7 separate regions of the Homo sapiens genome follow, and all the other regions are linked to region 6. Evidence: promoter capture Hi-C in 16 types of primary human blood cells and fetal thymus (Javierre and others, 2016). All regions are on one chromosome and are shown on one strand. Each heading gives the region's core, a stretch centred on a gene start or on the middle of the fragment in contact. The rest is flanking DNA. Distances are from core to core; before and after follow the strand shown. Region 1 overlaps PCCA (propionyl-CoA carboxylase subunit alpha). Region 2 overlaps PCCA (propionyl-CoA carboxylase subunit alpha). Region 3 has its middle 6.5 kb from the start of GGACT. Region 4 overlaps GGACT (gamma-glutamylamine cyclotransferase). Region 5 overlaps GGACT (gamma-glutamylamine cyclotransferase). Region 6 holds the start of CLYBL (citramalyl-CoA lyase). Region 7 overlaps PCCA (propionyl-CoA carboxylase subunit alpha).

Region 1 (3,404 bases), core at 355-2,854, 600 kb before region 6:
GGGAGGTAGAGTTTGCAGTGAGCCAAGATTGCACCACTGCACTCCAGCCTGGGCAACAGAGTGAGACTCTGTCTCCAGAAAAAAAAGAGGACACTAGAATAATAAGATAGCTAGGTCCACAGGACTCTAAAATAATATTATAGGAACCCAAATGCCTAGAATTTGCTGGTGTTACAAGTGGCAGGATGCTAGACAAGAAACCCTTTCAGCCCTAAGAGGTGCTTATAAAGTATCTCTCTATCAAATGTTTCTGTATTTGGTTTTAGTAGAACCTTATTTTCATGGAAAAAAAAAATCTTATGCAAATCCCCAAAAATGTAAAGCACATACGTAGGAAGTAGCGCTGCTCTGTATGAGGAGATAATAGAGGTAAGCCTACACCTCTATCAACTCTACGTCTCCAGGTGGATACATGAATCATTTCGGACCAGGACAATAATCATATTCATTTCTCTTTATCCAAAACCTGAAACCCACTAAACACTAAGTAAAGACAAGAGGAAACAATCATGCTTCAACCATCAATTGTCTTTCCATATTCTCATTTTACTTGCAAAGATGGAAAATTTTATTATAAATGCTGCTTTAAAAACGACTATGCCAGGCAGATGTAATCAAGCAATCAGAGTACCCACACAAAGAATTGAAGAAATAACATAAATGAGAACATCCAAAATACATTATGATTATACAGTAAAACTTCTGATTAACAGGAGCCCAACGACCTGGAACACTGATTAACCAGATTTTTCTTGTGCATTCTAATTTGAGGAAAATTACTCACCCAAAAATGTAAAATTGTCAAAAAAAAAAAAAAAAAAGCTTATATCAAGTATTTAGTGACTATTTTTTGTCCCACCCAATACAAAAGAAAAATAGCCAGTAGTATGCTGGATAACTACAAATGTTTCAAAGACTTAACTTCCTTTTTATCAATGTGTTTTGGAAGTGCTCCCTAGATTGGCCTTTAAAAGTAATTAAAGCAAAATGAGAAAGCAACATTAGAGGCTCTTGGCTCCCATAAATCTGTAACCAAAAAGGATGAGGTCAGGATAAGAGAGTATGGTAACTGCAGTGTGATGGAGCATGTTTCAAATGTTTTCAGTTCTTGACCAGGCAGCGGTGTGACTTAGAATAAAAGGCCAGATTTTATCCACTAGTAACCTTCGATACTCTTCTGTTAACCCGGTATTTTTTGTTATCCATCTAATTATCAGTTTCCCTTAATCACTGTAAGTTTTTTGTTATGCAATAGCAACTAAATTTGTTTCCAAAAATATGCTTTTTAAGGTCCTTTTAAATTTACCTTGCATGATACATATAATATCTGAATACAAGTAAATGTCTTATGATCACAAAAAGTGGGCATTTTTCATCATTAAAGTGATTCATTTAAAAAAAAAAAATTATGAGCCAAGTGTGCCTGTAGTCCCAGGTACTTGGAAGGCTGAGCCAGGAGTATCTCTTGAGCCCAGATACTGTTCAAAGCTGTTGTGCGCTATGATGGCACCTATGACTAGCCACTACACTTCAGCATGGGCAACACAGCAAGACAAAAGAAGAGAAAGAAATTATGAAAAGCTGAAATCACTGCTCCAAAATTCTACTCATTTCCTAAATTCTGTGACTCTATGGTTCTGGACAAATTTTAATAGAAGAATGGGGGAAAGGGTTGGGTTTGAGCAGTATGTTAAGGAAATGAGATTTAATTTACCATAGGCTTTATGTCAGGAATGAAGGACAGAAAGAATCATTGTAAAAATTAAAATGTATGATACATATTTCATTCTTAGAAATACCACAAGTTAGTAAATTGCTATATTATGAATTCAGATTTTAAAGCGTATAGATTTTAGGCTTACCAAGAGTTGCTACTTGGATAACTACAAAACCAGGGTCAGAAGAAAAAGACAGCCATGGGGCTGGGCACAGTGGGTCACGCCTGTAATCTCAGCACTTTGGGAGGCCGAGGCAGGTGAGCTGCACGAGCTCAGGAGTTTGAAACCAGGCTGAGCAACATGGCAAAAACTTTTCTCTACAAAAAATATAAAAATTAGCCAGGCATGGTGGTGTATACCTGTGGTCCCATGTGGTCCCAGCTACTCAGGAAGCTGAGGTAGGAGGATTGCTTGAGCCCAGCGGGTAGAGGCTGCAGTGAGCCGAGACTGCACCGCTGCACTCCAGCCTGGATGACAGAGCAAGACCCTGTCTCGAAAAAAAAAAAAAAGCCACGGAAAAACAGCTGAACTGTCCAAAAGATCCAGATTGTGGTTTTTAATACTATTCCATGATAAAAGAAAAGAGTGTTTCTGGTAGAAAAGGCCAGTTCCAGGATTGGTTCAGGAAGTTAGCACATGAGATAAACTGAGTCAGAAAGAAAGCTTTCAAAAACTAATGTAGCAGATAGAAAGGAGCACCCACTGAATATAGTGATGTCAATAGGAACATCAAAAAGAATACTGGGGAGATTACAGGGTTAATTCATTCTTTTCAAGACCTCAGAATAAACCACTTCCTGCTATCTCTACTCGTGTTTGAACTTCTTGGACATGAGTCACTGATTTTAAAATACATGGCTCTTTAAAAAGAAATGTAGAGAAAAACCAATTTTACACATTAAACTAAGTGAAATAAAATATCAAGGTAAAATCCAACATAATTTTTTTTGTTTTTTGTCTTGATACGAAGTCTCACTCCGGAGTGCAGCGGTGCAATCCTGGCTCATTGCAATCTCCGCCTCTTGGGTTCAAGCAATTCTCCTGCCTCAGCCTCCAAGTAGCTGGGACTACAGGCACCCCCCACCATGCCGGGCTAATATGGTTTTATATTTTTAGTAGAGACAGGGTTTCACCATGTTGGCCGAGCTGGTCTCGAAATCCTGACCTCAAGTGATCCACCCGCCTCGGCCTCCCAAAGTTCTGGGATTAAAGGCGTGAGCCACCATGCCTGGCCCCAATACAATGTTTTTATAAGGCAAAGAAAAAGGGACCAGAGTAACATCCATGTAGGGCAGGAAAGCACAGGAGAAAAACATACCAATACAATAGATCAAAACTATCATCTCATTTCTTTTTTTTTTTTTTTTTGAGACGGAGTCTCACTCTGTCACCCAGGCTGGAGTGCAGTGGCGCGACCTCAGCTCACTGCAACCTCCACCTCCCAGGTTCAAGCAATTCTCCTGCCTCAGCCTCCCAAGTAGCTGGGACTACAGACGCGCACCACCACGCCCGGCTAATTTTTTTTGTATTTTTAGTAGAGACGGAGTTTCATTATGTTGGCCAAGCTGGTATCGAACTCCTGATCTCGTGATCCGCCTACCTTGGCCTCCCAAAGTGCTGGGATTACAAGCGTGAGCCACCGCACCTGGCCTATCATCTAATATTTCAAAACAAGTTAAAAGACAT
Region 2 (3,806 bases), core at 486-2,985, 630 kb before region 6:
AATAAAATCAGTAGTAAAAAACTTACGAAATATCAAACAACACAGAAAGCCAACAGACTTTAATAAAACATAATTTAATTTACTTTAGAAAGTAGCACTTCAAGGAAAAGATTTTATGCGAGGCTTCTGAGGTGATTCAGAAGAGATTTTCAGAGAAATTCTAAAAGCTTTGTAAGAGCTGATGACCCTAGTTCTTTATGGTTTATTTTACCTCAAATTTTATGGTTTCCCTTTCTTTCAGTATAAGCAAAACACCAGTACTCTTATACTTAATAGCCATGATTGCTATCATTTATTTCACAAGCAAGAGAGAGTAATTGGGGAAGAATTAGAAGAAGGACAGGAAAGAGAAAGGAGTCATAAAGGATGTGCCCAAGTACAAAGAAAAAAGACTTAGATTAGATTAGGTAACTTCAGTAGGAAAAAATAAAAAATGAAAAGGAGGTAAAGCACAGCATTAAAATATTGAGGGAGGAAAGCAAAGTGATGAGAACTAGTTAGACAGAGGCCCATCATGATGAGCTGGTTATCTTAAAGGTGACAGGTTATAACGAAAGTGGAAAATGGCCAGGTGCACTGGCTTATGCCTGTAATCCCGGCACTTTGGGAGGCTGAGGTGGGCAGATCACCTAAGGTCAGGAGTTCGAGACCAGCCTGGCCAGTATGGTGAAACCCCGTCTCTACTAAAAATACAAAAAAATTAGCTGGCATTGTGGTGTGTGCCTGCAATCCCAGCTACTCAGGAGGTGAAGGCAGGAGAATCACCTGAACCCGGGAGGCAGAAGTTGCAGTGAGCAGAGATCGCACCACTGCACTCCAACCTGGGCAACAAGAGTGAAAAGTCTGTCTCAAAAAAAAAAAAAAAGAAAGAAAGAAAGAAAGAAAGTGGAAGAAAAGGCATAAAGGAAGCAAAGCAATCCACGGCCTGCTATTTACACAAAGGGAATGCTCGCAAGTCCAAAATTCACCATTCAAAATGTGGCACTGCAGTGTAACTGTAAATTTTCTTCTAATCCCTTTATTTCCCTAAATTTCTCTAAATATTGTCCTTTATGTAGATACTGTAATAATAATAATAACAGTATTATTATATCCAATGAGGTTGATAATAATATCTAACCTAGAACTAGAAAAAGAGCTTTTTAAATGTAAAGATGTCTGACAGGATGGAATTAAACTATTTTAGAAAACTATCCTCAAAAGCCAGTAGGTATATTATATGCCTCTTAGGCAATGAGGAATACCAGTGATTTCAAACCATGAACAGAAACTTTTGATTTTTCTCCATAAAGAAACCACAGAATCAGTTCTATATAGTCCAGTTTATTTAGCAGTCGAGCAAATGTTCCTATGAAGTACTGATAGGCTTTTTGAAATGTTAATGATTCTGAAAAAAAAAATGAAGAGATGAGGTAGTCAGATAAAATAAGATTTTCTATGGTCTGGTCTTAAATCCAGGACCTATATCAATAAGATAGATTTTTGCAAAGCAAACAACAAAACACACTTAATGATGGGCAAAGCCCAAATAATTTAGACAGTACCAACTACAAACAAGGGTGCAATAAGCCAAACTGCTTTTCAGGTCACTAAAGACCTGCTAAGTTAGACTGTCCCATTTGCAAAGAACACGCTTACTAGTACAAGTGATCACTTCCAGACCAATAAGATATTTCTACATATCACAACTATATGAGCTTTGCCAAATCAAATGCTCTCTAGAGGCAGAAAATAGATCTAAATAATCTTAGTGAGAAAACAGGCCTACAGAAATGTTCGTGTGGCACGATGAGATGCTTGGACTGAGGCGTACAGGAATGCTGAGAAGACGCTGGGATCCCTACAAGCATTGCCTAATTTCTCTCATCTGTACAAATTTCTGTCAAATGTATACAATTACTGATTTGATTATTAAACCTGCAAAGTTATTTAACAATATTGTTAATCCATATAATAGCATGCCCTTACACATTTTCTCAATTAGCAGATACCAAAAATAGTTCTCATGACCGCCAAGAATATTTTTAAAATTAAAAAGTTGCGAGCCAGGGGCGGTGGCTCACGCCTGTAATCCCAGCACTTTGGGAGGCTGAGGCGGGTGGATCACCTGAGGTCAGGAGTTCGAGACCAGCCTGGCCAACATAGTGAAACTCCATCTCTACTAAAAATACAAAAAATTAGCTGGGCGTGATGGCAGGCACCTGTAATCCCAGCTACTAGGGAGGCTGAGGCAGGAGAATCGCTTGAACCTGGAAGGCAGAGGTTGCAGTGAGCGGAGATCGTGCCATTGCACTCCAGCCTGGGCAATGACAGCAAAACTCCATCTTAAAAAAAAAAAAGGAAAGAAAAGAAAAAGAAAAGAAATTAAAAAGTTGGGAAACACTGCCCAAATACAAGTACATGTAAAACAGCCATTAAAAACTCCTCCAGTCTACCTTTTATTCCAATTTAGATCATTCAGTTCTAATTTCCCACATCTATTTTATCTTTCCCATCTAACAAGATTAAGTTGATACCTAACATCTTAGCAAAAGGCAAAAACTTAAAGAACTATGTCACATATGGTATCTTCATTTTAATCCAAATGTTCTTAATTTTAACAAACCACATTCAACTATGTACATATAAATTGACATTAAACTTATATCCAATCTTTAGAATTCTTAAGACAATTCCTTCTTTGAATTAGCCTGTGATCTCATCTTACAAAAGAGTTATGTATAGTTAAGGTCAAATTACTCTTTACAGTCTCCTTTAATAATAGAATTTGGCAATTCAACTGATACATTCTTCCAGAGCAACAAGTAATCAAAATCTAAAACTATTAAAGTATTATTTGCTCTATGGGAATTACTTATTACCTGTTGACTCAACCGTATCTGCTGAAAGACACAGAAATCCTACCAAAGTTAATTTAAGGACTTACCAATTTCCCTTGCAATTCTGACAGCTTCTTCTGCATCCTGTAAAAGCAGGAAATGAGACTCAACATTAATCCCATGAGGCATTGCACAATGTCTTTAGGGCAGTCATATATTGCACTACTGTCTCCTCCGATTCATTTAATGTTCAATTTTACTACCTTCTAACCCTTTTCATTCAGAGAAATGTAAAATTAATACCATAAGTGGAATGTAAATTCTACCTCATCATTATTATATTAAGAAACTCAAAGCAGTTGAAATGAGCTGGCAGGAAGCACTACCAGAATTGCCAATGATTTGGTGCAGTTGCCGGAATTTAATGGCAGAATTTAGATGTTTACAATCAATACTGAATCATAAATCAGGTCATTAAAGCTTGTCCGCAGCCAGCTTGTTTCTGTCCAATATTATGTGTCATGTTTTCCTAGATTCTGTCAGCAGGGGGAGTTGATTCTCTATTGTTTGGGAGTAGTTGATCGATTTTGCAGAAATATGAAAGTTAATTTCCAGTACCTACAGGAATTACGAATTGTTCCAAAAAATCCTTTTGGTAATCTGCATTACCTTTTCTTTTCTATTGTTTCTTTCTTTTTTTTTTTTTTCAGGTACATATTTTATCTCTACAATTGTATCTTGTTACATAAATTAAAAAAAAACTTTAATTTCAACGAACCAACTACTGGAGGAAAAAACTCCAAAAAGCAAAAGAAAGAAAATACCTTCCTAAACAGTAAGGGGTAAAAGTTTATCCATTTAAGGATTAGTTATTGCTAAATATTAACCAATGCCACTTCTACCTCTAAGAAGATGAAAAGACAAAAACTTCCCTTGAATCTAAGTAATTTCACTGATCATTAACCCTCACCTAACACATCCAACACA
Region 3 (3,703 bases), core at 283-2,782, 990 kb before region 6:
AGCATGTCGAGTCAGAGTCTTAACAAAGGCTCTGCCAAAGACGACATCCAGCAGGTATTCACATCACTGGAGCATCCCTCCAGGCACTCTATGTTGCAGTGGTGCCAATCTGGGGATTTGTATTTTGAGGCATATCACTCATTTTCCCCACTCAACCACGCAGACAGTACTGACCTCCTGCAATAACATCACAGATCTCCATTTCTCTCTTCATCCTCTTCCAGTTGGCTTCCACCTTTAGGGGCATGCACTTCCACACAGGTGCCTATCTTTTGGATTAATGAGCCTCCCTCCCTCAGCAGGCTCTTTAAAACAGGGTATAGCTTTTCAAAGCCAAAATCCATCCTGACTCACATTCTACCACATGCTGAGTTGATGACACCAGAGGCAGGGATTAGAGTGATGCTTCTACAAGCCAAGGAACACCAGGGGCCACCAAATGCTGGAAGAGACAAGGAAGAATTCTCCCTTAGAGGCTTCCAGGGTAGCGTGGCCCCTGCCAATACCTCGATCTCAGATGTCCAGCCTGCAGAACTGCAAGAGAATGCATTTCTGTTGTTTGAAGCCACCCAGTCTGTGGGGCCTTGTTATGACAGCCCTAGGGAACTAATAGAGCAAGTCACTTAATCTTTCAGCACCTTGGCTTCCTTGTCTGTAAAATGGGGAATGTAACTTTTTCACAATTATTGAGATGTTTACGTGAGAAAAGACATATAGAGTCCTGGACCAGAGCTTGGTATATCAAAATATTTGATAAATAACTGAAGGGGGGAAAACCCTTCACTTTTCCTATAATTAAATGACCCAGAAATAATTTCAGATTTATATATATATATTTTTTTGAGGGGGGTAGACAGGATCTCGCTCTGTCACTCAGGCTGGAGTGCAGTGGTGCGATCTCAGCCCACTGCAGCCTCAACCTCCTGGGCTCAAGCAATCTTCTTGCCTCAGCCTCCTGAGTAGCTGGGACCACAGGTATGTGCCACCATGCTGGGTTAATTTTTTTTTTTTTTTAGTAGAGACAAGTTCTCCCTATGTTGCCCAGGCTGGTCTTGAACTCCTACTTCAGCCTCCCCTCAAAGTGCTGGGATTATAGGCGTGAATCACCACACCTGGGCAATCACTTATTTTCTGACTAGTTCAAGTAGTTTTAATCAGTTACTTTGTTTATCAAAACTGCCTGAGTGTCCTACATTTCTAATCATTTATTTTTAAATATGTGGCATTTCCCAAAGACCAATAAAGCTTTCTTCTTCCCACTTGTGATGTGTTTGAGAAAATGTTTTCTCTCTTGATTTAAATTCTACTTTTATCCATCTTGTAAAAACAATTTTGTCTCAGCAGTTAAATTTTGATAGCATTAATTATGATGGCTAGACTTGAGATTTGTCTTGAATATCAAAACTGCTCATTTCTAGAACTTTCTGATAAAACATACAGATGATAGCTTTCACAGTACTGGCCTAGGAAACTGCAGACCTCGGCAAACAAGGTGACAGGGTAGAAAAAGCATGGGAACAGGTGTGTGAGAGCTGTGCTAGGATTAACTTCACTGGCATGTGTCTTTTATTTTTAAGTTCCAGCAATCCAATTAGATACAAACAACTCCAATCCTTCCTTTAGTTACTTGGAACCTGGGATGAATCTGTTAATTACTCCATGCCTCAGTTGCTTCTGATAAAAATAATGGTAGTGACACAGGATTTTCTTCTCAGTCATTTTGCAAGATGCAACACCCCACCCAGGCCTCACTCAACCACACTACCTGCTGCAGGACACAGCCTGCCCACTCAGCCTGCCCAGGCCCGGTCAAGCTTATGCACTGATTCCCCAGTTCTTGTCTTACACCCAAGAAGAATGAGGATGCACTGACAATCAAAGCGTGAGCAAGGCGGGGTTACTGAATGATGAAATAGCTTTCATGGAGAGGGGACGCCGGGGTGGTGCCCCTACCCAAAGGTGGGAAAGTTCCCCTAATATGGCTGAGTCTGAGGCTTTTTATGGGCTCAGAATGGAGAAGGGGCAGGCTGTAGGTAATATTGGAAAAGGCAACATTTGATTAGTTAAAAGGCATAATTCAGAAAGAATCAATTGGGAAAGGATGGGCAAAAAGGAACAGAAGTTCTCACTCTGGGTTGCAGACTTCATCCGGGACCGGCAATCCGATCTTTCAGCTTTCAGGCTGTTTTTGGCCTGAAGGTGGCGTTTCACTGGGGACCTGCCCTACCTGCCTAGGCATTTGGCTGCCTCCTGTCACTATCAGTAGTTGTCCTTGCTTTGGTTAATTTCTCCTCTATGAAATAAGATTGGACTAACCCAGGAGTCTTCAAAAATACCTAGATGCTTTATCCTTTTTTAAAAAAACATGAACTCTTATAGAGAAGTCCACTGGAAGAAGTTATAAAGGTGAGCTGCTTTGCATGCTTATGCAAATCCTCATCAAAATCTGTTGTGAAATATCATAATGTTTGAAATGCCAACACCCGCATGGAAATAAAGTATTTTGAAGGTTTCTAGTCCTGATATGGCCTGATCAGTTAAAAAGGTATCTCAGACTGAAAAAGTAAACTTCTGCCCCCTGCCATCCATCAGGCTGAGATAGCACAGATAACGACAGCAGCAGAGGGAGCGGGAAATACGTCCTCCAAGGACACACGGATGTCATATCAGGTCAAATCACCCCCGTCCTTGGGTGCTTGCTGCTTTCTTACTCACTGAGAGGCTTCCTTCTGGAAAAGCATTGACTATCAGAAGGTTTGCTGTTTGAAATCATCAGGACGGAACCATCTCAACTTACCCGGGGGATCCGAGTCTCCTTGAAACAAACAAGCAGCCTCTATTTCCAACCTGGGTGCAGAACTTCCCTTAAAGGGTTTCTGGGTGTGCCAGTCTGCATCTATATTAACTCTAGTCTCCAAGGATGTAGACCCCCAGACTCCAGACCTGATGTTGATCTGTACTCACAGCTCTGTCTGCCTTGAACCTGTCAAAACACTCTTTCCTTTAAATTTCACCTACACGCCACCCCTCCCCTAAGTCTTCAAACTTTACCTTTGCTGAGGCATCCCAGGATTCCTCTGGCCTCAGTCTTCTCTCCTTGCAATGAGCCAATAAATCTGACTTTATCCAACTACAGTTTTGCACCTGGTGGTCTTTGATTGGGCCCAGACAGGCCACGTGCCAATCAAAGCAGAAGAAATTCTCCCTGGTCTTTACTATTTCATGCAAGAATAAGGATCAAATGGATCGTGTGTGTGAAAGTGCTTCACTGAGAGAACTACATGTATAGGATTACTTACTGGAACTAATAATTTTAACAAAGAGGTTCAAATATAAATGATAAGTCCTGATAATATACAGTTCAGGGTATATTACCCAGCTTCCCCGTTTAAACCTCATGGTAAGAGAACAGGTTTTCGGCTCAGCTGGGTGTGAGTTCAAGCCATTGCACGCTTATTTACAGTGTACCTTTGAGTGAGTTATTTTACCTCTCAGAGCCATTTCACAGGTAGAATGGGGATAATAATATCTGGTTCATACTATTGTTCAAAGGATGACACGAGAAGAGTCATGTCGTGCCTGGCATATGAGGCCCACTCAATATGCCTTAATTCCCCACATTGACCACTCAAAGAGAACCCAGCTACATTTCATTTTGTAATGTCTACATTTCTAGACACCAGATTAGCATTATTTCCTTTTA
Region 4 (3,602 bases), core at 51-2,550, 930 kb before region 6:
ACGTTTCCACAGCGTCATGAAGGACGATCTTGTCCCATGAAACAAACCCTACCCGTCTTCTTGCTGGGGGGGTCAGCGGCTGCTCTGCTTCTCCTGTGCACCCGGGGTTGCTCTTCAGTTCTCTAACTTAGTAAGTTGGACTGGCAGCCTCTTGGTTGTACACCATTTTATTCTTGATTCGCTTTTCTGATTCAAAGTGAACCTGAGTGCCTTAATCCTCTAAGGGGAATTAATTGCTTGTTTCAGTGCTTAACTCTGATCCTGGCTCAGTCCCCATGGGGACAAGTTTCTTCCTGTTAGGATCTGTGTGTGTTGTTCAAAACACAATCAGAAAGGTAATGAAGTTTTTCTTATGACAGAAGCCAGAAATGCAGGCTATTTTCTTTTCTATTGCATAAGTAGTGTTCTCAAACTAACTTTATGTTATGAAGGATGCTATTGAACTCAATACATAAAATGTAGAAAATTTTAGTTGGTCATTCTAGCAGGCTGGATTATTTCCTAGAAATGAAGGTTAACTTTTATTGCCTGGTTTTATTTTACAGAAATAAGCTATCATCTTCTGCAGAAGACAATTACTGAACTGATTTTCCAGAGTTGGAATTAACCTTCTGTGGCCTAATCACCTTCATTTCTACGTAATATCACCCTCCCAAGCATTTTTCTTGGTTTTGGAAAATCATTAAGGCCACAACCACTACTCGATATGCCTGATGCCCTCTCCCACTTATAATGTGTTCATTTTTATTTTTGAGAAGACTATAGCTAGTAGATATTTCTAGAAGATGTTGATAAAGGATGGAGTTAAGTGGAGACCTGAGGAGGGAGCAGGGATAAGGAAGGGCCAAGGGGAAGAGGGAATTCACATTCATCAGGTGCTCATGCCTGCACAGTCGGCAGTCAGTGGAGGGTAACTCTTTGGGGTAAATAGGAGGAAATGGAAGCTCAAGAACTTGAAATCACTTGCCCAAAGTCCCACAGGTGCTCAGGGATGGAGGCAGGAACTCAAGTCAGGCCTGTTATGGCACAGTGGATTGTTTGATACTTGCCCTGCACTCTGTCCCTAAATGCCCATCTACAGAATTCTGAGGTTGCCTTTCCTGATGCTGGCCCTGCAAGGGCTGGGCTCACACTGTGTCTGATGCAGCAGGGCTGACTTGGGGGCAATTACTTCACATTAAGGTAGAGACCAAGAGAAATACTTGTTTTAATCTGGAAAAACTCAGATGGCTTGCCTACAGCCGTTTCTTACCATTACTCATTAAACCAAGCCCTTACATTTTATCTGAGACCCTGACTCTAACCCTGTGCCATGGAAAAACAAACAAACAAACAAAAAACTAGCATGGTGAGAGGGGGCAGGGTTGAAGACACAGTAACATGTGGCTCTCAGAAGGTGGCATCCCCTTCTGCAGTGGCAGTGTCACCCCTCCCAGCCCGGCCCAGGGGCCTGGTGCACCCAAAGAGGAGCCCGACATTTTCTCAGCCAGAATGAATCACAGGCACATTCTGCTGCGGTTCTGAGAGGCATCTGGCCAGTGTTATAGACTTTTCATGTGTCCTGTTGGTTGTGATCCTCACAGCAGCCCTTGGAGATGGGCTGAACATGAGAGACAAGGAACAAGAGTACAAGGAGATAAGAAGCTCAAAAAACAACAAACAAAACCCAAAGCTAGCAGAAGGAAAGGAACAGTAATGATTAGAGCAGAGATAAACAAAAAGAGAATTTTAAACAACAGAGAAAATCAGTTAAACCAAGAGTTGGCTGTTTGAGAAGACTAACAAAATTGACAGACCTTTAACTTAAATAAAAAGAGAGAAAAGATCTAAATAACTAAAACCAGAAATGGACGAGAAAACATCACGTCCTACAGAACAACACATCTTGCAGAAATAAAAAGGCCAAGAGAATATTATGAACAATTATGCCAACAAATTGTCTAACCTAGATGAAATGGACAAATTCCTAGAAAGACACAACCTACTGAGACTGAACAGACCTACAACTAGTAAAGAGACTGAAGCAGCAGTCAAAAATCTCCCCCAAAAGAAAAGCCCACTCTCTCTCCGGTCCGTGCCTCCAAGATGACAAAGAAAAGAAGGAACAATGGTCGTGCCAAAAAGGGCCGCGGCCACGTGCAGCCTATTCGCTGCACTAACTGTGCCCGATGCGTGCCCAAGGACAACGCCATTAAGAAATTCGTCATTCGAAACATAGTGGAGGCCGCAGCAGTCAGGGACATTTCTGAAGCGAGCGTCTTCGATGCCTATGTGCTTCCCAAGCTGTATGTGAAGCTACATTACTGTGTGAGTTGTGCAATTCACAGCAAAGTAGTCAGGAATCGATCTCGTGAAGCCCGCAAGGACCGAACACCCCCACCTCGATTTAGACCTGCGGGTGCTGCCCCACGTCCCCCACCAAAGCCCATGTAAGGAGCTGAGTTCTTAAAGACTGAAGACAGGCTATTCTCTGGAGAAAAATAAAATGGAAATTGTACTTAAAAAAAAAAAAAAAAAAGCCCAGGACCAGATGGCTTCACTGGTAAATTCTACCAAACATTTACAGAATTCACACCAGTCCTCCTGAAACTCTTCTAAAGAATGAAGAAGAAGGAACATTTCAGTGTTGAGCATCACCCTGATACTAAGGCCAAAGACACTCCAAGAAAGAAAACTACAGACTAATATTCTTGATGAAGATCGATGCCAAAATCCTAAACAACACACTAGCAAACAGAATTCAACAACACATTAAAAGGATTATATGCAATGGCCAAGTGGGATTTATTCCTGGAATGCAAGGATGTTTCAATATAAGAAAATCAATCAATGTAATACACTACATTAACAGAATGAAGGAAAAAACACACAATCACTTCAATTGATACAGAAAAAGCATTTGACAAGATTCAACACAACTTCATGATTTAAAAACAGTCAACAAAGGAACAGAAGGAAATTACCTCAACATCATAAAGGCAGTATATGAAAAGCCCACAGCTAACATGATACTCAGTGATGCCAGAATGAAAGCTTTTCTTCTGAGATCAGGAACAAGAAAAGGATGCTGCTTTCATCAGTTCTGTTGAACATAGTTCTGGGAGTCCTAGCTGGAGCAATCAGGCAAGAAAAAGAAATTTAAAAGGCATCCAAGTCAGAGGTAAGAAGTAAAATTAACTCTATTTGTAAACAATATGGTCCTGTATAGAAAATGTAAACATTTCACCTTAAAACTTTTAGAACTAATAAGCAAATTCAGTGAAGTTGCAGGAGACAAAATTCACACAAATAATTATTGCATTTTTATACACTAACAATAAGCAATCTGAAAAGACAAACTATTCCATTTATGATAGCATCAAAAAGAATAAAATACTTAGGAATAAACTTAACCAAGCAGGCAAGATGTGTACACTGAAAAGTACAACACATTGCTGAAAGCAATTAAAGAGGACATAAATAAATGGAAAGACATCCCATGTTCATGGATTGGAAGACAATATTGTTCAGATGTCAATATTTCCTAAAGTGATCTACAGATTAATGCAGTCCTTTAATGCAGAAAGAGGAAAACCCAATCCAAAAATGTATATGGAAATATC
Region 5 (3,514 bases), core at 774-3,273, 960 kb before region 6:
GAAGATGCCGCTTCTCTCCCACTCTTCTTGTGATTGCTACCTATATGGTCTTAGAAAAATCTTTTAGTTGGATTGAAGTGTAGATTTCATATTCAACTTTAAAATGTACTTTCTAAACTTTTTCCAGCCTTAATACCCTATGCTTCTCCAAGGGTATTAATAAAAGATGCCATTATATAGCAAAAGATGTCAAGTTCTATTTTTTTCCTTTAGCAGCTGTATCCTAAGAAACCCCAGATATTCGTTCAGGAAAGCAAGTTCTAGAGTACACCCTGAAGCTAGATACAGCTACAGCTCTGGGCAGCAAAATGCATAAATGTACCTGCAGCACAGTTCATCATTAATCAGTTTGAGGACTCTGCATTCTTATGAAAAGCTTACATCATCTGAAAAATGTTTTTTATCCTGGTGTGGTGGTGCACGCCTGTAGTCCCAGCTACTCTGGAGGCTGAGGCAGGAGGATACCTTGAGGCAAGGAGTTTGAGGCTGCAGTGCACTATGATCACACCTGTGAATAGCCACTGCACCCCAGCCTGGGCAACATAGCAAGACCCTGTCTACAAAAATAAATAAATGTTTTAAACATTAACACATAAATTTTACCATCTTAACCATTTTTAAGTGTACAGTTCAGTAGTATTAAGTATATTCACATTGTTGTGCAACCAACCTTGAGAACATTTTCATCTTTTAAAACTAAAATTCTATATCCATTAAACAACTCCCCATTTTCCCCGTCCCCCAGCTCCTGGTAATCACCATTCTGTTTCCTGTCTGTATGAATTTGACTACTCTAGGTATGTCATAAAAGTGGAATCTTACAGCATTTGTCTTTTTGTGGACTGGCTTATTTTGCTTCGCATAGTGTTCTCAAGGCTTATCCTTGTTGTAGGATGGGTCAGAATTTCCTTCCTTTCAGTCTTTTCAAGGCTCTGTAATATTCCATTGTGTGTATACCCCACATTTTGTTTATTCCTTCCTCTGTCAGTGGACACTTGGGTTGCGTCCAACCCTTGGCTGATGCTGGGAACGTGCATGAGCTATGTCATTTTTAGTATACTGTGCAGACCAATGCAGAGAAGGGCTTATACAGGTTTTTCCTGCACACAAAAGGTTAAATTTCATAATAAAGAACACCAGTCAACCATACCAGATAACTAGTGTATGGCTTTTTGTATGTTTGAGTAAGTTAAAAAAGGTTAAGACTTATTGGATACAAGATATATGCAAGGCATTATTATATCTGTGATATATTCTATTTAGTCCTTGTAGTTCTGTGATTTATCCTTCTCTCAGAGGGAGTAAGAATTATTGAGATCATGTGTGGGCCAGAATGTATATATACATACATTATCTCCATACATCAATGTTTGAGGTGGGCATTATTATCCCCATTTGTAGGGAATTGGAACTGAGGTTCACAGAGATGAAACACCCTGAACAAGGTCACACAGCTGAAACACGGCAGGGTTTTACATGACTTTGAAATGAAGTACATCTAGTTGTAAAGTGTGTCCTCTGGGCCGCGTGCAGTGGCTCATGCCTATAATCCTAGCACTTGGGGAGGCTGAAGTGGCAGGATTGCTTGAGGCTAGAAGCTTGAAACCAGCCTGGCCAAATGAGACCCCGTCTCTACAAAAATTAAAATTAAAACTAAAAAAAGAAAGTATGTTCTCTGTCTACACCACACTTTCTTCTGCTGCACAGCATACACATCTGTGTTCTGAAGGATATTAGAGCAATATCAAAGAATGGCACTTCTATATGATCATTAGAAAAACTGTAATATCTTTGCATTAAATACAGTCTTTTCAATTTTCCTTGCGAAGACACAGCATCAGTTTGGATGAGTTCATCTGAAATGTATTGCCAAGGCTTGCCTGCTGGGGGATTTTGCAAAATAAATCTCCCTACTTACAAAAGTGTGCTTCTCATGTGCCAGTTCCCATGTATCTGAGGTTATCCTCCTCGACACTGTTATCTTCCCTTTTTTCCCTTCTTTCCTTTGGATTGGCAGAGAGCTAGGACTGTTGTCACTGCTCTCTGCTTCCCTGTCTCTTTAATGCCATGGTGTTTTGGGCTGGAGCTTTGATCCATTCTGGCACTGTGTTTTCACACAGCTCAAGGGCTATAAACTGTCCTCATAGGGGGTCGTTTTCTTGGAGACTGAGCAATCTCTCGGGGAGGCCAATCACAACATTTTCTTACATATGGAATTATTAGATGAGCAAATAAGTAGCGATACATCATCTGAGCAGGCATTTAAGCCTAAGATTCCACGTTTTTGGGTATCCTTATAGCAGCACCCCAGTCTCTGTGGTACAAATTTACTGTATTAGTCTTTTCTCATACTGCTAATAAAGACATACCTGAGACTGGGTAATTTATAAAGGAAAGAGGTTTAATTGACTCATGTTCAGAATGGATGATGAGGCCTCAGGAAGCTTATAATCATGGCAGAAGGAGACATTCCTTGGGATTTTATAAACCTAGAGGATGGGTAAGGACCCAGACTGCTTCCAGAGATTCATTTGAGGTCTGATATAATTTGGCTGTGTCTCCACCCAAATCTCATCTTGAATTGTAGTTCCCATAATCCCCACATGTTGTGGGAGGGCAGGTGGACATAACTGAATCATGGCAGCGGTTCCCCCCCATCCTGTTCTTGTGATAGTGAGTTCTCATGAGATCTGATGGTTTTATAAGGGGCTTCCCCCTTCATGGGGCACTCATTTTCCTTGATGCCACCATGTGAAAAAGGACATGTTTGCTTCCCCTTCCGCCATGATTATAAGATTCCTGAGGCCTCCTCAGCTATGCTGAACACGAGTCGATTAAACCTCTTCCTTTTATAAATTACCCAGTCTCAGGTATGTCTTTATTAGCAGTATGAGAATGGACTAATACAGTAAATTTGTACCACAGAGAGTGGGGTGCTGCTATAAGGATACCCAAAAATGTGGAAACCACTTTGGAACTGGGTAACAGGCAGAGGCTGGAGCAATTTGGAGGGCTCAGAAGAAGACAGTAAAATGTGGGAAAGTTTGGAACTTCTTAGAGACTTGGAGGGCTCAGAAGACAGGAAGGTGTGGGAAAGTGTGGAACTTCCTAGAGACTTGTTGAATGACTTTGTCCAAAATGCTGATAGCAGCATGGACAATAAAGTCCAGGCTGAGGTGGTCTCAGATGGAAACGAGGAACTTGTTGGGAACTGGAGCAAAAGTCACTCTTGTTACGCTTTATCAAAGAGACTGGCGGCATTTTGCCCCTGCCCTAGAGATCTGTGGAACTTTGAACTTGAGAGAGGTGATTTAGGGTATCTGGTGGTAGAAGTTTCTAAGCAGCAAAGCATTCAAGAGGAAGCAGACCATAAAAGTTTGGAAAATGTGCAGCCTGACAATGTGATAGAAAAGAAAAACTTATTTTCTGGGGAGAAATTCAAGCCCACTGCAGAAATTTGCATAAGTAACAAAGAGCCAAATGTTAATCACCAAGACAGTGGCGAAAATGTCTC
Region 6 (3,743 bases), core at 303-2,802:
AATTAGCCGGGCATGGTGGCGGACGCCCTGTAATCCCAACTACTCCGGAGGCTGCGGCAGGAGAATCACTTGAATCCGGGAGGCGGAGGTTGCAGTCAGCTGAGATGGCGCCATTGCACTCCAGCCTGGGCGACAAAAGCGAAACTCCATCTCGGAAAAAAAAAAAAAAAAAAAAAAAAAGAAGTTCCAGACCACCAGGCCGGCCATGGTGGCTCACGCCTGTAATCCCAGCACTTTGGGAGGCTGATCCGGGTGGACCCCCTTGAGGTCAGGAGTTCGAGAACAGCCTGGCCAACATGGCGAAACTCTGTCTCTACTAAAAATACAAAAATTAGCCAGGGGTGGTGGTGCACACCTGTAATGCCAGCCACTCAGGAGGCTGAGGCATGAGAATCGCTTGAACCCAGGAGGTGGAGGTTGCAGTAAGCCGAGATTACACCACTGTACTACAGCCTAGGTGACAGACCGAGACTCTGTCTCAAAAAATAAAAATAAATAAATAAAGAAGTTCCAGACCAGGAGCCATACACTTAGTGTTTGAACCAAACTCTCTCATTACTGGTCATAGGGCTTTGAGAATCCTTAACCTTTCTGACCCTGTTTTTTCATCTTTATAAACATGACACCCAACTTCTTCACATGGTGGTCAAGGGAACCAAATGAGACCATGTATGTGCACGTACCTAGGCGATGGGCAAGTGCTAGACCAGCGGTTCTCAAAGTGTGGTCCAAAGACACCTGAGGGGGTCCCTGAGACCCGTTGAGAGGGTCTGCTTGGTCCTCCCTTTCCCAACTAATATCTGCATCTGCATGAGCCCAGAATTTCTTTCAAATATTTCCTTCAAAACAGCTGATATGAGACTCCAGCTGTCCTTTATTAAACCAAAGAAATTTTCAAAAATATAAAAACCATGAGCCAATCTTCTCACTTTTTTTTTGAGAAGTTATGCATTAAAGTGTTATTTGTATTAAAAGTTAATGGGTTTGTTATTAAGTGAATATTTTTTAAATTTCTGGTTTAATTCCTCATGCACAAAAATCAATAGATATAAGCAAAAGCTTTGGGGGGTCCTCAAATTATTTTTAGACGTGTAAACGGGTCCTGAGACCAAACCGTTTGGGAACCGCTGTGTTAAACGAACCGCAGGTGTTCTTCACCAGGCAAGCCGCCTCTCAAAGACTGGCGCGTTCACGTTTGCCATTTGGGGGAGGCAGGCAGTTTTGTTTCCTGGGGCTGAGTCCAGGTAATTCGACCTAAGGTGTGTACCCATTTTCCGGGTGCAACGAGGGCCCTCCCAAAGGGAGGCGCGGGCGGCAGCGACCTTGGACGAGGTCGAGCCAGCGCGTGGGAGGCGCATGGTGCTTCCGTCCGGCTGGGTTCCCGTGAGGGCTTGGGGAGGCCGCGCCCGGCCCGCGGGGCTGCAACAGGAGCCGACCCGCGGCGAGCCGGGCCGGGAAGGCGGGGAACGGGGACCTGCACTCACAGCCTCAGCAGCGCCGCCGCCGCAGCTCCGCGCGCCGCCCTCCGCAGCAGACGTAGCGCCATCTTCCCGACGCGCGCGCCCCGCCCTTTGCCTTTAGCCACGCCCACCCCACATTCCACGCCCCCACGGCGACACCGACCCCCCCCCCGTCCCAGGCCCCGCCTCGCTCTGTCTTCGCCCCGCCCCGTCCCGCCAGCCACACCCCGCCAGCCACGCCCTCCTTCCTCCCAGCACCCGCTCCGCCCCGCGGCGAGTCCCGAGGTCAACTGCCCTCCCGGCCAGGGCTTAGGACCTTCGTCCCCGCTGTCATGGGGGACAGAGCAGAGGATCTGAATGGTTGGGGCCTCTTTGAGGGGCCTCTCTGGTGACCGAATCCAACTCTCTGAGCTTCTGAGTTTTTGAGGCAACTGTTGACAGACTGCGTTTTCCCAGCCAGAAGAGCCAACATTTCTAGGGATTTCTTCGCAGCTTTTGTTGTTAAAATACCGCCTAATACTTTGTGAGCCCCATCATGTGCATATCTTGGTTAGCAATTAATCTAGAGTGGTCAAAGTGCAGGAAGGCTGCATCCTGGAACACACATGCCTGCAATAGGTCAGAGCAGCTGTTGGCACTCTCTGGGCAGGGAAACTGACAGCAGCTCTTTACTCTGCCCCCTGCAGCCGTTCTGCAGCGGTGAGAACGCCGAGGCGTTAAAACAGGCTGGGCCCTGCCCCTGCCTCTTCTTTCACCTTCCCTGATCCAGCCGGCCTCCACCTGCCGACCTTCACCTACCCGGGCCCATGTTACCCCTTAACCATGTCTTTTCCTTGGCACTCGGCATGTTTCTTTTTCAGCTGTGACTCCGTTCCATTCATGCTCTAGACTTAAACCTGAAACCGTTTCTCAGAACCTTCCAGTGGAAGCTGACTTGTGCTCTTGGATGCAAAAAGTGGCCGTTTAAACAAACAAAAGCCTTTTCAGCCAGAGGGGGTTCCAAGATTTGGAAAAGTCCAGGTGACTGGGAACATGGATGCTAAACTTCTGCTGAGCCTAAGAATTATTGTTATATTCGATACCAACAGGGGAGACTGCTCAACCCCTTGGTGCCCTCCCCCAGCTCCCACGCCTGCTCCACCTCAGGCCTCGCCTGTCTACTCCAATTTGGTCACTTTCTTGTCACCACCTTAGTCCCAGCCAGTGCCCGGTCCAGCCATACTGAAGCCTGAGGCAAAGGCAATTTCAGTAACACCAATCCTGTCTTTAATTAAAATTTTGATATTTTGTTCATAATGGGATTTTTCCATTATCTTGGTTTTTAGTTTAGAATATTACTTTTTTTTTTTTTTTGAGACAGTCTTGCTCTGTCGCCCAGGCTGTAGTGCAGTGGCACGATCTCAGCTCACACACTGTAACCTCCACCTCCTAGGCTTGAGTGATTCTCACCCCTCAGCCTCCTGAGTAGCTGGGACTACAGGCAAGTGCCACCACTTCCAACTAATTGTTTTGTATTTTTAGTAGAGATAGGGTTTCACCATGTTGGCTAGGCTGGTCTCGAACTCGTGGCCTCAAGTGATCCATCCGCGTCAGCCTCCCAAAGTGCTGGGCTTACAGGCATGAGCCACCATGCCAGGCCAATATTACTTATCTTTTTTTTTTTTTTTTTTTCTGAGATGGAGTCTCGCTCTGTCGCCCAGGCTGGAGTGCAGTAATTACTGAGACTTCTCCTTAAATTTTGCATCCCAGGCTGGGGCTGCACTCACCTCACTCAAGTCTGATTCTGGACATCATCATCCTTTACCTGGATTATTTCAAAGCCTCCTTGCTCCCATTCTTCCCTCCTACAATCACCCGTTTGCCATAAAACCTGGCTGACCTTTTAAAAGCATGACGCAGCTCCTAGTTCCAGAGTTGACTTGCTGTGTGACTTTGGTCAAGTTTCTTAAGCTCTCTGTTTCCTCATCTATAAAATGGGGGTATAAATACCTCATCACCTCATAGGCTTGTTATAATGATAGACTGAGTTTACATATACATAGAGAGAGACTGCACACTTAAAATCTAAGCAAGTTCTCAGTAGTGTTAACTATTCCTCATTATTATTGTCATTGCATCGCTTCCCTTCTTAAAACCCTTTAGTGGCTTTAGAATAAAATCCGAGTTCTTCCCCATGACCCTTAAAGCCTCACACGGTCTGGCCCCTGCCAGCCTCTCCAATTTATCTCCAGCCCCACTCATCTTCTGTCTGTGTTTTCTAAGTCCACGAGGCTCTCTCCCACC
Region 7 (3,708 bases), core at 177-2,676, 910 kb before region 6:
ATATTTTTTATTTTATAATTATCATTGAGTATATTCAACTGTAAAAATTCCCAGTACTAATAGATATTTTTTTACCTCCTCATCTTTTTCTGCCTCCTCTTATCTACTAATAGATATTTGTTACCTCCAACAAAAACCAACTCTTTTTTTTTTTTTTTTTTTTTTTGAGACGGAGTCTCGCTCTGTCGCCCAGGCTGGAGTGCTGTGGCGCGATCTCCGCTCACTGCAAGCTCCGCCTTCCGGGTTCACGCCATTCTCCTGCCTCAGCCTCCCGAGTAGCTGGGACTACAGGCGCCCGCCACTGCGCCCGGCTAATTTTTTGTATTTTTAGTAGAGACGGGGTTTCACCGTGGTCTCGATCTCCTGACCTCGTGATCCGCCCGCCTCGGCCTCCCAAAGTGCTGGGATTACAGGCGTGAGCCACCGCGCCCGGCCAAAAACCAACTCTTAACATTTAAAAATAAATGTTATCTGGAAAAGATTAAAAGGCCAAATCCAGGGGTAGTCGTTACCTCTGAAGAAGACAGGACAGGAATGAGATGGAGGAGCTTGCCACAGGGGAAGTTCATGTTATATGTAATGTCTCATTGTTAAATAAAATTTGAAACACATATGGAAATGGTGAACAAAGGGCACAGGAGTGCTTGTTGGATTCTTCTCTGTAACTTTCTGCATGTTTGTAGTATTTCATAATTTTAAAGTCTTAAAATGTTAACAAATGCATGGATCTCTGTGTACATGCTGTGAGATACAATCTGAGGTTTGGGTGAAAACTGGCATCTTGTCAAATAAACTGCTTGAATAACTATTGCTATAAAACATATAAATTTAATTACTGCAATTATTTTGTGATTGTAAATCAAGGTATCCAGAAACTGGAAAGTCTATGAAGCAGCCAGGCTAGCCCCTCTGCCAGGGAAAGATGCAGTGAGCGAGCCTGGGCTGCATGAGGCACACAAGCGCGATGCCAGGCAAACACCCGTCGGGAGGGCCCAGCCCTGCCTTCTCGTTAGGATACGTGAGAGCTTATGAAATTTTAAAATCTTGTTTAAGAAATAAAAAATAAAGGTATCTCACCAAGTTTGCCAGTTCTGTATGGTCGGCTATAAGCTCAGTTACATGAGGCTTAGAGACAAAGGGGAGGAGGGGACGTCAGACTCTGAGATGGGATGGGGTGCCTGTGTCTTGTGGCCCTGACTGCACACCTGCTTGGGAGCCTGCCCTGTCAAAGGAGCACGTGCAAGGAGGAAACAAAATCAGGGTGAAGTGTAAGTGGTGTTGCCACCGACGCCCACCGATGTGATGCTTTCCCTGGCACACTGTACAGTAGGCTGTTTCTCGCCTTTAAGGCGTTGTTCACAAGAGGAACAACCGCAGACACCTCACTGTCCCCTGCTGAAGGTCAATTCCATCACGAGGTGGATCTTTTCATCTTAGCCCCACCAAAATATCCCGAAGTCTAATATCGAATGGGCTAATTCGCAAGAAAAAGCAGCAACAGGTACTTAATTTCAATCTATTCTTTCACCTGGTTTCACTAATTGTTAAGAAAGAAAGAAATGCAGATGAGTATATAGCAGCTTATGGTTTGTTTCTCATTTGTTTGGTGTATTAAATGAGTATTTCTGATGCAAATCTGTGATGACTGCAGAATACGAACATTACTTGAAAGAATCTTAACTAAATGCAATATTAAAATGCCTCCTTGGGTGACTATCTTATGGGGTGGTTTTGTTTCTGATATCAAAAGGCTAACAAAGCGAATGTGCTCATCATGACTTTATTTGACTTCAAAGTCAAAGTGAAAATTATGCAATAAATTCAGCAGCTATAAGTCTAATTTGACATGTGGAAAAATGTATTCTACCGTTATTCTGAAAATATATATATTTCTAACATTTCTGTTCAAGAGTATCATAAAGGTAGAAGTTTGAAACAGCTGAGTCATGCTAACTTTGATTACAGAAGTGCTCCCAGTTTACAATAGTGTTACGAGTCTAAGAAAACGAGTTTTCAAACTGAAATGAGTTACTGCAGAAACATTTTCAGAAGGCATATAAAAAGGCACTAAAATTTATTCTATCAGTTGTTTCCTAAATTATATTACTGATTCTGGACCTTAATAATCCACTGTACTTTCTTATTGATTTGTTTGCTTACCTGCATTTTACTGTGTATTAACATCCTCTCTCCACGTGTTCGGAAAAACTATTACACAATCATTTAAAATGTGACCTGCCACATTTAATGTTAAATAGTATATAACAGACACTGAAAAAGTTATTAGGAACTTTTGCTGTGTGAACCCTACAGAAGCCCTTCAAATAAAACACAGCTTCTGTGTTTAGGGCAGGCTGAGTGTTTCAAATGAATCAGTGCACAAGGCCCTGCCACACCAAGCGCCCCGAGCGGATTCACTACTTCTCAACGGCCACCCCACATCTCTTCTTCCTGAGGTTTTTAAACTGTGTTCAAATTGTTTACTTCACAAAACAGATTTGTTCATTACGATTTATGTGACACTTTTTTTAGAACTTATTGCCAGGCCCACCATTCTACGATTGGTCAAGTTTTACTTCAGCTAAGCTAAACAGAAACATGATAGATTACTGGAATTTAAACGATAAAAAGTAACATTTCAAAGAAAAACAGAATACTTGTAAGGCCCTTAGTTGTTTTAGGGTCCTTATTTTCCTTGAAAATACACCAAGGAGACTGACTCCATTATCTTCCCACCCATAAAAGGGGAACCTCGCCCGGCTATTGTTAGTGCGGAGGAAAACACAACACGCCCCGCGGTGTTAAAATCACTTAAAACCGCAAAATTTCAACGTGACAGGTAGTGTTTCCTCACAATGGCCTCAAGTAAGTGACGTGCCTCTGGTCCAAGGAAGCTTCTTGTGTTTTAATTACACTAAGCAGAATTTAACTATAGAAGTTGCGCTAAGAGCCGACGATGAAACTTCTCAGGCTGCATTGGGTTTCGGTATTAGTGGTTTGGGACATTTTTCACAAGCAGTAATTCAAGAGAAAAGGCTGTTTCATCAAAACACAATGGCACAGAATATGAAAGGAAGTTCTGCAAGTACCAAAAAAGACAAATAAAAGCAAGTATACGCCCCACCTGAGCAGCCCCCGCAAACAGAACTTAGGAGGGAGCTGACAGATCCCGAGGTCCTGAGCCTGTTCACTACGCGTGCCCCCCAGGTACTCTGAATTTAAAGGAATGCATAAAATATAGGCCCCGTTGCTCTGCCGTAACATATTTTTAACAGTTCTCAAACCATTCTTAATGAGTACACACATTTAATTATTGGTGGGTGTTTTTAATATCTGAGCTACATCAATGAACCAAGGACTGATATCACATTGTTCCCATTTACGAAATGCCTTGCTTTTCTACATTCAATTATTAACCAGGAAATGGAACGTACAAAGGCCAAACCCTTTCGGTATGTGGGAAAGTCAGATCAGGAGCCAGCAGCTGTTAAAGAAACCAGAAGGCTGCGCTGATCTGGCCTTGGGAGCGCCCCGTTTACTGCCTCTGAGCAACCTCCTTGAGGGCCGTGTGAGGGGCCAGGGCTGCAGTCTCACCCTCTTGCCCTCCAGGCTTGAGGCAGGAGTGGTCTCCCTCATCCCTGCCCGCCCTCCCTCCACTCCGGTTTGGATTCAGGTGTTAGAAAAGGATTTAAGGAAAACACTTACTTG

Evidence for each region. Contacts are between HindIII fragments. The CHiCAGO score rates a contact against its expected background, and 5 or more counts as called.
Region 1: a fragment that was not itself captured here is called in contact with the fragment with the promoter of CLYBL in region 6 in 1 of 17 cell types (naive CD8 T cells); the score reaches 6.3 in naive CD8 T cells.
Region 2: a fragment that was not itself captured here is called in contact with the fragment with the promoter of CLYBL in region 6 in 2 of 17 cell types (naive CD8 T cells and total CD8 T cells); the score reaches 6.4 in naive CD8 T cells.
Region 3: a fragment that was not itself captured here is called in contact with the fragment with the promoter of CLYBL in region 6 in 2 of 17 cell types (fetal thymus and activated CD4 T cells); the score reaches 6.1 in fetal thymus.
Region 4: a contact is called between a fragment that was not itself captured here and the fragment with the promoter of CLYBL in region 6, in 1 of 17 cell types (naive CD8 T cells). The highest score is 7.4, in naive CD8 T cells.
Region 5: a fragment that was not itself captured here is called in contact with the fragment with the promoter of CLYBL in region 6 in 1 of 17 cell types (fetal thymus); the score reaches 5.0 in fetal thymus.
Region 7: a contact is called between a fragment that was not itself captured here and the fragment with the promoter of CLYBL in region 6, in 5 of 17 cell types (non-activated CD4 T cells, total CD4 T cells, naive CD8 T cells and 2 more). The highest score is 8.8, in non-activated CD4 T cells.

What each region holds. Positions count from the first base shown.
Region 1 is chr13:100,202,956-100,206,359 of GRCh38, reverse strand. The region is part of intron 6 of PCCA (propionyl-CoA carboxylase subunit alpha); the gene reads right to left. Among named protein-coding and RNA genes, the nearest start is that of PCCA, 120 kb to the right of the region's middle. The HindIII fragment of the contact is 1,559 bases long and covers 825-2,383 here.
Region 2 is chr13:100,234,999-100,238,804 of GRCh38, reverse strand. PCCA (propionyl-CoA carboxylase subunit alpha) reads right to left here. Exons shown (of 24, transcript NM_000282.4): 8 at 2,927-2,963. Among named protein-coding and RNA genes, the nearest start is that of PCCA, 150 kb to the right of the region's middle. The HindIII fragment of the contact is 3,132 bases long and covers 170-3,301 here.
Region 3 is chr13:100,593,417-100,597,119 of GRCh38, reverse strand. No RefSeq gene overlaps it. Among named protein-coding and RNA genes, the nearest start is that of GGACT, 6.5 kb to the right of the region's middle. The HindIII fragment of the contact is 569 bases long and covers 1,248-1,816 here.
Region 4 is chr13:100,538,732-100,542,333 of GRCh38, reverse strand. The region is part of intron 2 of GGACT (gamma-glutamylamine cyclotransferase); the gene reads left to right. It also overlaps the pseudogene RPS26P47. Among named protein-coding and RNA genes, the nearest start is that of GGACT, 48 kb to the left of the region's middle. The HindIII fragment of the contact is 3,470 bases long and covers 1-3,035 here.
Region 5 is chr13:100,569,620-100,573,133 of GRCh38, reverse strand. All of the region lies in intron 2 of GGACT (gamma-glutamylamine cyclotransferase), which reads left to right. Among named protein-coding and RNA genes, the nearest start is that of GGACT, 17 kb to the left of the region's middle. The HindIII fragment of the contact is 846 bases long and covers 1,601-2,446 here.
Region 6 is chr13:99,604,499-99,608,241 of GRCh38, reverse strand. CLYBL (citramalyl-CoA lyase) reads right to left here and starts at 1,552. Exons shown (of 9, transcript NM_206808.5): 1 at 1,485-1,552. The coding sequence starts at 1,546. LOC105370332 (a long non-coding RNA gene) reads left to right here and starts at 2,393. Exons shown (of 3, transcript XR_931674.3): 1 at 2,393-2,480. RefSeq lists a silencer at 1,212-1,771 and enhancers at 1,493-1,787, 1,710-2,689. The HindIII fragment of the contact is 13,725 bases long and covers 1,062-3,743 here.
Region 7 is chr13:100,517,093-100,520,800 of GRCh38, reverse strand. The region is part of intron 22 of PCCA (propionyl-CoA carboxylase subunit alpha); the gene reads right to left. Among named protein-coding and RNA genes, the nearest start is that of PCCA-AS1, 38 kb to the right of the region's middle. RefSeq lists enhancers at 899-1,564, 3,272-3,566, 3,015-3,708 and a silencer at 3,272-3,566. The HindIII fragment of the contact is 2,940 bases long and covers 1-2,896 here.